Linked DNA regions of Homo sapiens: regions 1 and 3 are each linked to region 2. The links are contacts of gene promoters, found by promoter capture Hi-C in human tissues and cell types (Jung and others, 2019). All regions are on one chromosome and are shown on one strand. Each heading gives the region's core, a stretch centred on a gene start or on the middle of the fragment in contact. The rest is flanking DNA. Distances are from core to core; before and after follow the strand shown. Region 1 overlaps STIMATE-MUSTN1 (STIMATE-MUSTN1 readthrough). Region 2 holds the start of TKT (transketolase). Region 3 overlaps CACNA1D (calcium voltage-gated channel subunit alpha1 D).

Region 1 (4,417 bases), core at 254-2,753, 360 kb after region 2:
TGCCAGGTCATACATGGTAGCCCATTATTCAAGCTGCATAAACATGCAGACTGTTACAGGCACCACCCACACACATGTCCCAGTGTCAGCACTGCCTTGTTGAGTTGGCGGGCTTCCTAGAGGCTCCAGCTAAGGTACCCTGTGTACGCAAGGAAAGATGAACATACTCAGAGACAAGCTTATGAAGATACTTTCCACTTAGAGTTTTCTGAAGTGTCTGCTAGGTATCTGCATAGAAAGAAACGCTTTAAACGAGGGGGCTTTGCCAAGCAATTCCTCGTTTTGGTGGTTTTAAGCAATTCCTCGTTTTGGTGGTTTTGTCTATAGTCTGTGACTTGACAAAGTTGCTCAGCTAGGGTCTCAGCAGAACAGAGCTAAGCAGTCCTAGAGCTCAGCAAACTGTTCCAGTGCAGGGTAGCCAACCAGCTGTCAGCCAAAGGTCGTGTTGGCCAGTGTGTGTGTTGGCATTTGGGGGTGTTTGCTCTCAGGACATGTGAATGCAAAGCAAACTCAAGCCTCCCTCACCGTGCACAGTCAGGGTTCTGGGCTGAAGTGTAGACAGAATTGGTTTTTAATAAAACAAGCATTTTGAGAGCTTGGATAAATCTGCCTGCCTATTTTTGTTATAGACATGGGGCCTAGCCAGCTGGGAGAAATGTGTCCATGTTTTACAAAAACACTGCTAACATTGAGAAGTGATAACTTTTTTCCTGCAATCCAAAGTAAAAATCACAAACCAGTCCACTCAGCTTTGATATCTTAAATGAGAGTTTCTGGGGTTTTCTCCGTGGTAAACCGGCCTCCCTGTGTGCTCTGTGTGAACAGGCTTGTGTTGGCACAACCTTCCCTACGATCACCTCTCCCCACCCCATCCTGGTTTTTATCTCTAAAAATGTCAAACGTAGAAAACATGAAAAATAATACACTGAACATCTGTCTGCCCTCTACCTAGATTTAGCAGTTGTTCACATTTTGTCACATTTGCTTTACCTCTTTATGCTTTTTTTTTTTTGGCTGAGCCATTTGAAGGTAAATTGTGACCAGCATCACACTTTACTGCTAAATACTTCAGCTAAGTCTCCCCAAAATAAGGACAATCTCCCACATAACCACAATTTCATCATCATACTTAAGAGAATTAATAATAACTCCATGATATCATCTCATATCCAGTCCATAGTCACATTTCCCCAAATGTCACAAGTCTTTTATAGCTGGAGTTTTTAAAAGCTAAGATCCAATCAAGGTCCACACGTTGTGTCTGGTTACGTTTTCAGTCACTTTCGTTTCTAGAAGAACCTCCTCCTACACATACATGCACACTTTTTTTTTTTTTTCAATGTTTCTGGCTTTTTGAAGAGTTCTGGCTGCTTGTTGTGTGGAGTGCCCCACATTCTGGAGTTGTCTGGGTGTTTCCTTGTGGTGTTTGAATTGTTTCACTGGCCCCTGTTTTCCTGAGTTTGGTCTGGAGCAGTTATTAGATTCAGATACCCAGTTTTATGGCAAGAACACGCCATAAGCGGCGCTGTATGTTTCATGTACATTCCACCAGGAGGCATGTGACATCACGCTGCCCCACTATTAGTGTTAATAAGGTTGATGACTTGGTGATGGTGGATGGAAGACCTCTCAGTCTCTCCCTCGTAAAGGTACATCTTCCCCTGGGCAATTAATAAGGGATCTCTGCAGTGATAATACTTTGAGATCATGTGAATACTCTGTTTCCCAGTAGCCTTTCACCCAGTGATCACCTCCTCCTGGTAAAATAACAGAATACAGTGACAGCTGAATTGGAGCTGGAGCTCACGAGTGAAGGCGCCTGTCTTTGGGTCTGGAACCCAGCACAAACTCAATCAGTGTCGCTGTCCTTTCCTCCTTCTGGAGTGCCAGCATGGGCAAAGGAAGAACGCCCCTTTTTTCATGCCAAGCTGGTGTTGTGGCCAATGTTAGCATACTGGCTGGCTCAGAGCTTTCATTTTTAGAAAGTTTTCAGGTTTTCTAAATGTTTATTTATTTGGTAGCATTTATCCATAATGGCAATCTGCTGCTTGATTTATCATGTAACTTCATTAATTTCGAATAAAATCAGGACAACAGGAAGTTGTCTGAATTAGGGGACAATCTGAGTTGTAGAATAACTTACCAAATGCATTTTTTTTAAACTTTTGAATACCTCTGTTGGCCACATGTTGCCCTGTTGGGGCCTCTCATGCTTCTGCTGCTTTAATATCTGTTTAAAGTCTTTTGCAGTTAGTATATTTGCACAAACATGAAGATTTGTTGAAGGGGTTTTACAAGTGGTTAAAAATAACAGGATCCCTGGCTCTGGATCCAGCCTGACCCAGCATCCATGTCTGCTTCGCTCTGCCATGTGGTGCCCCTGAGCAACTTCTGCATTTCTCAAAGCTTCAGTTTTCTCCCCAGTAACATGTGGTAATAATCTGTCTTTTCTGGGGCTATGGAGATGAGAAAGAATGTGTTTGAGGAAGCTGGGTTGGTGTCAGGCACATGTTAGGCCCTCCTTGGGGGTGTGTCTTCATCCTTGTTATTACATTGTATTCATGAGTTGGGCTGAAAAATGTTTCACAAGTGCTTAAGTAACTTATTTTCTGAATTAGGTTAAACATTCCCCTTTCTTTCTTGTTTGTACAATGTCTTTACCTTTAGCCCTCTTCACAGAGTGCATGGCAGTGAAAAAAAAAAGAAAGAAAGAAAAGCACCTTTAGCCCAGCCAGCACAGTGAGTGTGAATCCAGATTAGCATGCGCCAAAACAAGGTGGCTTTCGTGGCCAAAATAATCTTCCTTGACCTAATCTTTCTTGTGTTTTTACCGGCAGGGCCCTCATGTGGGCTCTGAGAGAGAGGGCAGTGGGTGCCTGGGGCTGCCCCACTTCCAGGTGATGAACCTGCTTCAAGTCGCTGGCTTTTCTTTGCCCAGGGCCCATGGTAGTAGGTGGTGGCGCTGGCCCCTGGAGCCGGCCTCTTTTCTGCAGCCTACTCTTCACTGAGTTCCCAGCATGCCAACCCCCCTCACAGGAACCCTGTACAGAAGCGGTCGGTGAGCAGGTGAAGTGCCTTGTACAAGGGCTCCTGGTTAGTAAGTGCAGAACTGAAATGTAAGCCGGGTCCCTGGGACCCCAGACACCCTGAGCCACTTCCTCTGTGCCTGCCGGCTTTTTCCACCCCTCTTTCCACACAGGTTCACTTTCTGATTACTCCGTATCTGTGGCTACTTCACCTCATTTTTTTTCTATCTGAACAATTCTGATTTTCTTTCTTGATAATTATTTTTATTTAATTTTATTTAAAGCATTATTGTTTTTTGACTGTTGATAACATTAAAAATATAAATTTGAAATGACTCATCAATCATTTCATGCCTACATGAGTCACACGCTAGGTCTGCTTTTCTGGGCCTTTGTGAAGATTTTCCTTGCCTGGGCAGAGGGTGGTGATTCTACCCCAAGGCTGAGGTCTAGCATCTGAGGCGAAGGCACCCCCGCCCTACCCCAGAGCAGCAGAAGCAGGCAGCACGGAGTCCCTTTACTCGCTGGTGAGGAAGGGTCTGCAGGGCTCTGGGTGGCTTCAGGTTACCTGCTGAGTTTCACAGAGTTCATTTCCCTGTTGGTTGCCATATGACTATAAGGAAGGTCATTAATAATCTTGAGGTTTACCCAGAAGAATTATCCTTTTCCTTGTGTATGCATAGAAGCAGTTGGTGAGTCTCTTTTAGATTACTCCACTGCTAGGAAAGCTATCCATTGAATCCAGAGTTTTTCAGCCTGGCACTGTTGGTACTTTGGATGAGATAATTCTTTCTTGTGGGAGGCTCTCCTGTGCATTGCAAGGCATTTAACAGCATCCCCAGCCTGCCTCTACCCACTAAATGCCAGTAGAATCTCTCATTGTGACAACCAAAAATGTCTCCCGACATTGCCAACTGCCCCCTGGGGGGCCAAATCGCCCCTATTTAAGAACCACTGCATCGGTTCAGTTTGTGAATTTCTCAGCAAACTCATATTTGCTCTAGAAGAACAGATTAGAAGGTCAGTGTGTTGTTTCCAAAGTATAAGAACAGTGGACTATCAGGATCTCTTAAGTACTTTGGTGCCAAGCCCGCTATTGGATGTTTCCTTGACGAAGAGCTGAGACTGGTCCCCAGTCCTTGAGGGGCTCACAGCTGGAACAGGCTGTAGGAAGGCAGGCAGGCAATTCCAGTATAGCGTGAAGAGGATTGTAGAAGCCTGAACACACTGGAGAGGGGGAATGAGGGGTTCCGCCTGGGGACTCGAGGAAGTGTCCCTGAGGAAGCTCCACCTGAGCACCAGGCTAAGGGCTCTCGACATGGAGGGGGTGGTAAGAGCAAAGGTTCACGTAGAAGAGACCAGCGCTGGAGAGGGTAGAGGCAGAGGGTCTC
Region 2 (4,022 bases), core at 1,453-3,952:
CTCCTGAACCCTGTCCTCTTGAGCCTTTCATGGACATTTCATTGGACAGACATGATTGACAACCTTGTGGAAATGTGATTAGACCAAAAGTATATGATCTAATACTAACTGACTGAGTGGGGAAACCCCGCAAGACCTGTGTGTCCTGACTCTTCTTGACCTCTCTGTGAAGCTCACTGTCTGGTAAAAGGGCAGACTCTTGAAACCTTTTGAAAACTCTGTGCCATCCAACTCTGTGGCCCTTAGGACAGTGGCTCCCTAAGGGAGTGGCCTCAATTTCCCCATCTGCCTAACGGGACTCATCCTTATCACTCTGCACCCACTCTGGTCTTCCCTCCTCATGGGTATGGGACAGAACCCCTTCTCATGGGGGTCTAATGACCTACAATTACACGAGGTAGGTGAGAGAACTTACTTATGGCCAGCTCCAAGACAGACCGGCAGGAGAAGATCCTGCCATGGGGAGAGAAAGGAGCAGGTGAAAGGAAGGTAGGAGAAGGCCTGAGAGACTCTGTTTCTGGGGTCTGCTCCTGAGGTCTAAAGCACCCCAGTGGTATAACAAGGGTTGGGGGCAGTTCTAAGCCAGGGGCCTGTATATGCATATCATAGTATCACAGGCCCCATTCATGTGGAACACCAGGAGGAGAGAGAGCCTCCCTGAGGTCCCTGGAGCTCCAGGTGGTGGGGAGGGGACAATTTTCTTTCCATTACTCCTAGGTCCCCAGAGCCATGGTGAGTTCTGTGCCATTGTCAGAGACCAGAGTGATAAGGATGAGTCCCATTAGGCAGATGGGGAAATGGAGTCCACTCCCTTAGGGAGCCACTGCTCTAAGGGCCACAGAGTTGGAAGGCACAGAGCTTTCAAAGGGTTTCAAGGGTTTGCCCTTTTTCCAGACAGTGAGCAGCTTGAGGGCAGAGGTGGCACCTGCCAGGCATCTGAGGGTGGCACACTGTGGGGCCCCCCTCCAATCCTAGCCCATAGCCCTCACCAGCCAGACACCATAGGGCCAGCCTCTGCGGGCTGGGCCAGCAGGAGCCAGGTGCTATGGGATGCCATACTTAGGGTCTGATTGGGCATCTGGGGGTCAGGCCAGCAGAGGAGCACCTGGAGGCGAGCTGGGGGACTCACTCAAATTCAGTCAATCGCCTCATGAGCCAGAGCTCTCTGAGTATGGGCAATGCAGGGAGGACACAGAGGACACAGGGCGGCCACTGGTGCCTCTTGGATCTCTCAGGGTTTTAGCTCCCTGCCCAGCCATCCGTTTGAGGGTCTTGCCTTTATCTTTCCTCTGTCAAATGGAGCTTCTTCCTCTGTAAAATAGGCATTGTAGGCAGTATGTACCTCACTGGCCAAGTGTGGTGGGCAGATTGAATGAAACAGTGTCTGTGATGAAAGTCCCCTCCCTAATCCCACTCTGGGGAGCTTCATACCTCTGGGAACCATGGGGTCTGATAACAGTAGTGGTGGGTGCCCCTGTCCCTACAGACCTGGAAGCAAACCCAATAATCTCCCTAAAAGTCAGTAGTGTTTCTAGGCCCTAATAATTTGTAAAGGATCTTCCCCTAGTAATTTCTCAGTTATCATCACCTGGCATTGTCATGGCTACCACTATCCTATTCTCATTTTCAATAATCCCCATCCCCTGTGCAGGGCTCTAAAGCCCTGAGTGGCTGGGCATGGTGGCTCATACCTATAATCCGGCACTTTGGGAGGCAGAGGAGGGCAGATGGCTTGAGCCTAGGAGTTCAAGACCTGCCTGGGTAAAGTGGCAAAACCCCATCTCTACAAAACATACAAAAATTAGCCGGGCGTGGTAGTGTGTACCTATGGTCCCAGCTACTTTTGAGGCTGAGGCAGAAGGATCACTTGAGCCCAGGAGGCTGAGGCTTCAGGCAGCTGTAATCACTCCACTGCATTCCAGCCTGGGTGACCATGGGTGACCCCGTCTCAAAGAAAAAACAAGTTTTTTAATTATTAGAAAAAAGAAATAGGGCCTGGTGCGGTGGCTCACCCCTGTAACCCCAGCACTTTGGGAGGCCGAGGCGGATCACCTGAGGTCGGGAGTTCAAGATCAGCCTGACCAACATGGAGAAACCCCGTCTCTACTAAAAATACAAAATTAGCTAGGTGTGGTGGCGCATGCTTGTAATCCCAGCTACTAGGGAGGCTGAGGCAGGAGAATTGCTTGAACTCAGGAGGCGGAGGTTGTGGTGAGCCAAGATCATGCCATTGCACTCCAGCCTGGGCAACAACAGCGAAACTCAGTCTCAAAATTAAGTCCTGCAGTCTCTTGGGCCTGGGGTTGGTCGGCTGGGGCCAAGCCTGGCACCCACCAGCCTTGTGACCTTGATTGCCCTTGCCAAGCCTCAGTTTGTCCATCTCTAAAATGGGATTCGCCGTGACAAGTCCACGGAGGACTGTGTGGAGGAGGGAGACTGAGAGGCTTTCGAGTCAGGAGCCCAGACTCGAATCCTGAGTTGTTCGTTATGTTATTATTATTGGTGTGTGTGGTTAACTGCTAACCTCGCAGTCCGCAGCGGCCCAGCGCCTAGGGGAGGGGAGCGGGCAGGAGGCGGCCCCAGGCGGGGCGGGGCTGAAGGCCTGGGGTGATCCGAGCCCCGCCTCCTCCCCCTGCCCCGCCTCTCCCATCCCCGCCCCGCCCCGCCCGGCGACTTAACGCGCCCCCGCCCCGCGCCCGGCCTCGGCAGCCGCCTGTCGCCGCGGGAGCAGCCGCTATCTCTGTGTGTCCGCGTGTGCGCCCGGTCCCCGCCTGCCGCACCATGGAGAGCTACCACAAGCCTGACCAGCAGAAGCTGCAGGCCTTGAAGGACACGGCCAACCGCCTACGTATCAGCTCCATCCAGGCCACCACTGCGGCGGGCTCTGGGTGAGTGCGCGGCGCCGGCCGGGGACGCGGCTCGGGCGGGGCGGGGGGCGTCTGCGGCGGCCAGAGTCGCCGCGGGCTCTGGGTCGCGCTGCGAGATGCCTAGACGAGGAAGGTGGCCCGGGCGCCGTCGGAGGGCGGAGACGCGCGCCTCGCAGGGCCCCGGGCTGCAGGCGGCTTCCGCTGCGCCGCACACTCGCCCTACGCCCGGGCTCGGCCGCGTGGGCCTCTGGTCCTCCGTGCGCCTCAGGCCGGCTCTTCCCCACGCGGATCGCCGGCCGCGCAGCTGCATGGTGGCGCGGGGGATGGGCTCGCGACTCGCCAAGTACCCTCTAGGGTGATGCCGGGAAGGCCACCATTACTGCTGTTCTACAGAACGCGGCCCTCTTAACCCTCTCCACCACCTGGCTGTGTGGGCGCCGCCGGGAGTGTTCCCCCTTCCAGATGGGGAAACGGAGGCTCCGAGTTAGTCAGCTACCCAAAGTTACACACAGGGAGATCTGATTTGAGCCCCAGCAGTCCGACTCTAGAGACCCTGTTTTTAATTCCTCTTGCAGGAGACTCGGGGGCCCGGCCTTCTCCCCACCTCAGACTACGCTCCCCTACCCCTGTCTCCTGCCACCCCTGGGTTGGGTCCGAGTTTGGAGCAGGGGGCTGCTGAGACGCCAGGCAGCGGCGGGGCTGATTGGGGGAAGAGGGGAGGAGGGCGGTGGCACGTGGGTGCAGAACCCTGGGATCCATTGTGAAAAGGAGGTCTAAGATTTGACCTGGGGCGGGAGGAGGCGGAGGGCAAGGAGACTGAGAAGGCTGAGCGCCGGAAGGACGGAGTTCCAGGGCCCTAGCGCCGGGAGTGACGTCCTGGGGCAGGGCCAGCCACCAGGTGCTGTATCTCCCAGGCAGGAGCTGGCGTGCCTAGGCCCCAAGATCCTTCCCTGGCCAGCCCTTTTGGCCCAGAAGGTGGACACCCAAGGAGCCTCCTCTGTAGCGGAGACAGGGATAATTAATGAGGGCCACCGTGCATGCAGCTGGAGGTGTCCAGTGGGGTGGGTGAGGGGGTCAGTCAGTGAATTACTTCAGAGCCTGCTTCCCGCTCTGTAAAGCGGGGACAGTAATGGCACTTAACCACGCTGGGTGGTT
Region 3 (4,218 bases), core at 57-2,556, 460 kb before region 2:
TGATTTTATATTTTATATTTAGGTCTTTGCCTATTTTAAGTTAGTGTTTATATATAGTAGGAAAATGTTTTTGTTGAAAAATGACACTCAGATGAAAAAGTACACTAATCATAGGTATATGGTTCAATGAGTTTTACCAACTGAACACGTAACCCGCATGCACATCAAGAAATGCTAGTACCTTGGAAGACTTCTTGAACTCCCTTTCTATGGAAAGCTTTCGAGCAGAAAAGTGACAAGCAGCAGCTCTCTTAGGAAAATGACTCAGAGGATAAGGAGGATTAATGGGGAGGCAAAACTCGTTACTGAGTCTTATTGGTTTACTTTGAGGGAGATCTTTGGCACCTAAGATCTCCCCCTAAGCCAGGCTCATAGGATTCAATTGACTGACTGCAATTCAGTATCAATGTTATAATCCACAGAGGAAAACTCAAGTCCAGAGCAATACTACGTAAAATTCAGAAGTGAGAACATACAAAGGCAACACACAGGCTGACGAAGAAACAGAAAGAAGATACTGACCTGAGTTTGGATTTTGAGATGGCTTGACTGAAAGAAAGACAAAAAGTGTTAAGATTCTGGTTCCGAGGGCTTGAGCACACACTCCCCATCATTTCAGCTGAGATATCATAAAAGCCATGCATACAGCCTGGACTTAGCACCCCTGGTTACCACAGCAGGCCAGCAGGGGCAAGGCCAGAGCAGAAATTAGGATGCTGCCAGGGCCAGAGGAGCAGACTGAGCACCCTCGAGGCCCAGGTCAGGGAAGACTCGGCCAGATTCCCTGCAGGCCCTGGCAGCAGGCAGTGATGCAGGGGCCAAAATGAAGGCAGCAGAGTCTCTCCTGCCACTCATCTCGACAGCAGCATTTGCTGCTACTACCGCAGAGGGAGCACTGCACTAGGAGTCCCAGCACTGCCATTCTCCCACTGGGTGAGTATGGGAAAGCAGCAGGTCTTGGGCCTCAGCATTCTCATCTGTAAAGTGGGGATGACAAACCCATTCTCTGTCTGCTTCATGATGTCTCAGAGAGGGCAGAGCAAGAGAATGGAGGCAAAATCACTTCACAAATGGTTGCATATTCTGCCCATAACACATCATTTTTATGAAACTCTGCCAAGAGTAAGATTGAGTTCTCTTAAAAATGACACCTGCACTTTACAGAGATAAGACCTGAAGGATACCAGCAAGAAGCAAACAAAACCAAACCGCACAGGGCTCCCCCACGGCAGACAGTGCCCAGCACATTCTGCACTGCTGGTCCCCCCCAGCCCCCCCGCCAGCTGCCACAGCCCAAATCATCTAGAAAAAAGCCAGTGAGTGTTAATGCAATGGTGCCTTCCATCATGAGGAGAGGCTGGTGCAGGGCTCCAGGGAAAAAGTGCCAGGCACCAAGAAGGCAGGGCCTCGTCATCCAACCGCCAGGCCTGAGGTTAGGAAGGTCCCATGAGCAAAGGAAAACTTAAATACGTAGCACATTCTAGTCAGCAACTCTGCCACAGAAGCTCTTCTTCAAAAGCACAAATGCCAAACCCAGGCTGGAAGGAGAATCAGGCCTTTACCCCCACCGCCGACACCCAGAGGGCCCCGCCTTGGCCGCGCCTCTCCGTCTCCACCAGCACCTAATGGACACAGCAGGTGGCCAGGTTAACCACCACATTCTTCACGGGCTCTACTTACAGGAAGAGGCATGTGAAATGCTGGGCCGGGGGGCGGGGGGGCGGGGGGTGGGGAGGTGTGCAGGAGGGATAGCCCTGGCACAGGAGGAAGCGTGGCGTGGGGTACGAGGAGCCTTCCCACCCGCCACACCCAAGGCGATGGCCCGGGGCTCTGCTGCAGCCTGGGCGGTCTTCCTCACCACCTGCTTCTCTGAGACAACAGGAGGGGAAAGAGGGCAAGTGCTCCCCACACTCACCAGAGACTTCCACAGCAGCCTCGGTTCTCGCCTTCACCGCTGACGTTCTCTGTGTTCACAGACTCAGTCTCGCTGGTGGGCATGCTAGCTGTGGGGAGAAGACGGGCTTCAGAGAGCATGCGGGGCACACTGCACGCCTGGGAGGCAGGCCAGGTGGGAGCCTCTGCCACCAGGCAGACCTCCGGAACCCAGGAGGAGGGTGAAAAGGGCCCTCAGGGCCTCAGCTGGGCTAAGGGAGTGCCAAGGAGCCAGGCATCTCCACTGCAGGCGAGTCTCTGCACCCATGGCCTGTAGGAAACACAGTCCCCCTCGAGGAGGACATTCTATCCCCCTAGACATTTCCAAGAAAGGAAGCTAAGGGATCAAAGTGAATCCTGTGGCTGGGTATAGCACCACTTTATCCTCCTCATCTCTGGGATCACACTGAGAAGCCACCAAAATGTACTTTACAGGTACATCTTTGCTTGCCCCAAAAGGTGCATATAGAACATCTGTGAATAACCCTAACATTTCATGAGTCAATCATCTTAAATATACTGAGGGAGAAGAGCTATTGTGAATGGGGAAGGCAGTGCATGAAGGTACCATGCACAACATTTTTTAGAGTTAAGAACTCTATTTTTTTGCTATTTTACCTGATGCTGAAGTTCTGCTGAGCTTGTGAAGCCAATACACAGAAAGTTCTTACCCAGTAAGCTGGGTAAGAACAACTAGAGCACCAAGGAATTATAGTGTTACGAGTGGAAGAAGAAGATCATTATCAACCAGTGAGCAGAGGGCAAGGTTGACTCTGGTCTCAGTATGACTAGGGTCTCTGGGCCCATCCCACTTCTCCATGGTAGGATCCTGAGCGGAAGTAGAGGAAATGTGGAAACACGCCCACTAGTGTGTGGAGGTCCAGGGTCCACCCAGGGCCACCATCTGGTGCACGAGCGTCTTTTCTCATCCACTTGATTCAACCCCATAAACATCACGAACACGTGCTGGAGCCCAGGCAGTGGAGGAGGGCAGGGGCAAAAAGAGGGCACACAGCACTGCACCCACCTGGAATAGGGGTGAGGGACAGGCAGCCCCCAGCTCACTTCCATCAGCTGTGAAGAGAGCTACCTCAGGGGTCTGTGCAGGAGGTTCCAGAGTAAAGAAGGATTAATTCTGCCGGGGTGCAGAGGTAAAAGAGGAAGTCACGGAAGAGAATCCACGTGTACTTCCTTTTTCCTGAGGCATGGCTTTGAACTGTAGTGACTGTTTTTACAGACCTTACGATGTCTTCAGGAAAGCTTGGCCCATGGGCTCTGCCCGTGTGGCTCCCCTTAGCAAGGATGCCTCAAGTTTCATCTGCAAATACTGGTAGTGGGCTGGAAGCGCTATGGCGAAGATTCTGAGGCCCAGCCCAGGCTCAGGGGGAAAGGAGCTGGATCAGGCAGCTCGCGTAGGGGGCTGTGTTCGGCCCGCCTTGCTCATAGCAGACTTCATAAAGGTAACAGCAGGGATAGAGGTGGAACCTGGCTCAAGGAACCCAGTGGTCTGAGAAGTTTCTTGAGGATACCAAAGAAGATCCCTGATCCGTTCCGCTTGTGAGTGCCCGAGAAACTGAGCCTGCCTGCATGGGAGCCTCCACGCCATGCCCAGGAACACTGAGGCAAGGGTGTCAAAAGTTAAGACCAAGTGAGTAAAATTATAGACTCATGTTACATTGCTGGTACTCTCATAGAATAATTTTCTTCTTTCCTAAGTGAGAAGAAACCAATTACAAACCTTGATTTACTTTTTCATTATTTCATGCAGAAACAAACAAACAAAAAAAACTGGACAAAAACAAACAAAAAATACGACTCTAATCATGGAAAAACCTTAAAAAAAAAAACTCCATTAACACACACAGACACACAAGAAGCTACTCATGCAATTCTCCTCGACTGTTCCTCACTCTGATTCAGCAGAAAGGTGAGGAGGTTGTTAAATCCAACAAAGAAAATCACAGTGGGAGACCCTTTTCACATCTGATCATGAGTTAACTCTGTGCGGCATTTTCCGTGGTGGTTACTGCAGTGACTGAGGGGACCAGGAGTTGAGGGCAGTATGATGTGGGGAACCCACAGGCCTGGTCCTGTTTTCTGAGTCTCCTGGGCAATGGATCACCTCTCTCCAGGCTTCACTTTCCTGTCTCTAAAATGGTGGTGTGAACTCCACAATCTTGAGGGTCATTTCCATCTTTAACAGTTTGCTATCTCATAGTTCTAATATTGATCATGTAGGAACATTAGTCATTATTTTCAAAAGAGCAAACTTCTGAAAAGACTAAG

The links. The method cuts DNA at HindIII sites, captures the fragments that hold promoters and counts their contacts. A contact is called where the count stands out against the background at its distance.
Region 1: a contact is called between a fragment that was not itself captured here and the fragment with the promoter of TKT in region 2, in 1 of the 25 tissues and cell types used here (hippocampus).
Region 3: a fragment that was not itself captured here is called in contact with the fragment with the promoter of TKT in region 2 in 2 of the 25 tissues and cell types used here (dorsolateral prefrontal cortex and thymus).

The regions. Positions count from the first base shown.
Region 1 is chr3:52,889,967-52,894,383 of GRCh38, reverse strand. The region is part of intron 1 of STIMATE-MUSTN1 (STIMATE-MUSTN1 readthrough); the gene reads left to right. All of the region lies in intron 1 of STIMATE (STIM activating enhancer), which reads left to right. Among named protein-coding and RNA genes, the nearest start is that of STIMATE, 5.4 kb to the left of the region's middle. The HindIII fragment of the contact is 5,072 bases long and covers 1-4,039 here.
Region 2 is chr3:53,254,702-53,258,723 of GRCh38, reverse strand. It overlaps TKT (transketolase), which reads left to right and starts at 2,702. Exons shown (of 14, transcript NM_001064.4): 1 at 2,702-2,888. The coding sequence starts at 2,782. RefSeq lists silencers at 1-151, 2,416-3,105 and an enhancer at 1-151. The HindIII fragment of the contact is 27,166 bases long and covers 1-4,022 here.
Region 3 is chr3:53,716,086-53,720,303 of GRCh38, reverse strand. It overlaps CACNA1D (calcium voltage-gated channel subunit alpha1 D), which reads right to left. Exons shown (of 48, transcript NM_001128840.3): 10 at 1,916-2,003; 11 at 523-549. Among named protein-coding and RNA genes, the nearest start is that of CHDH, 130 kb to the left of the region's middle. RefSeq lists enhancers at 865-1,445, 1,446-2,026, 2,990-4,189. The HindIII fragment of the contact is 4,874 bases long and covers 1-3,743 here.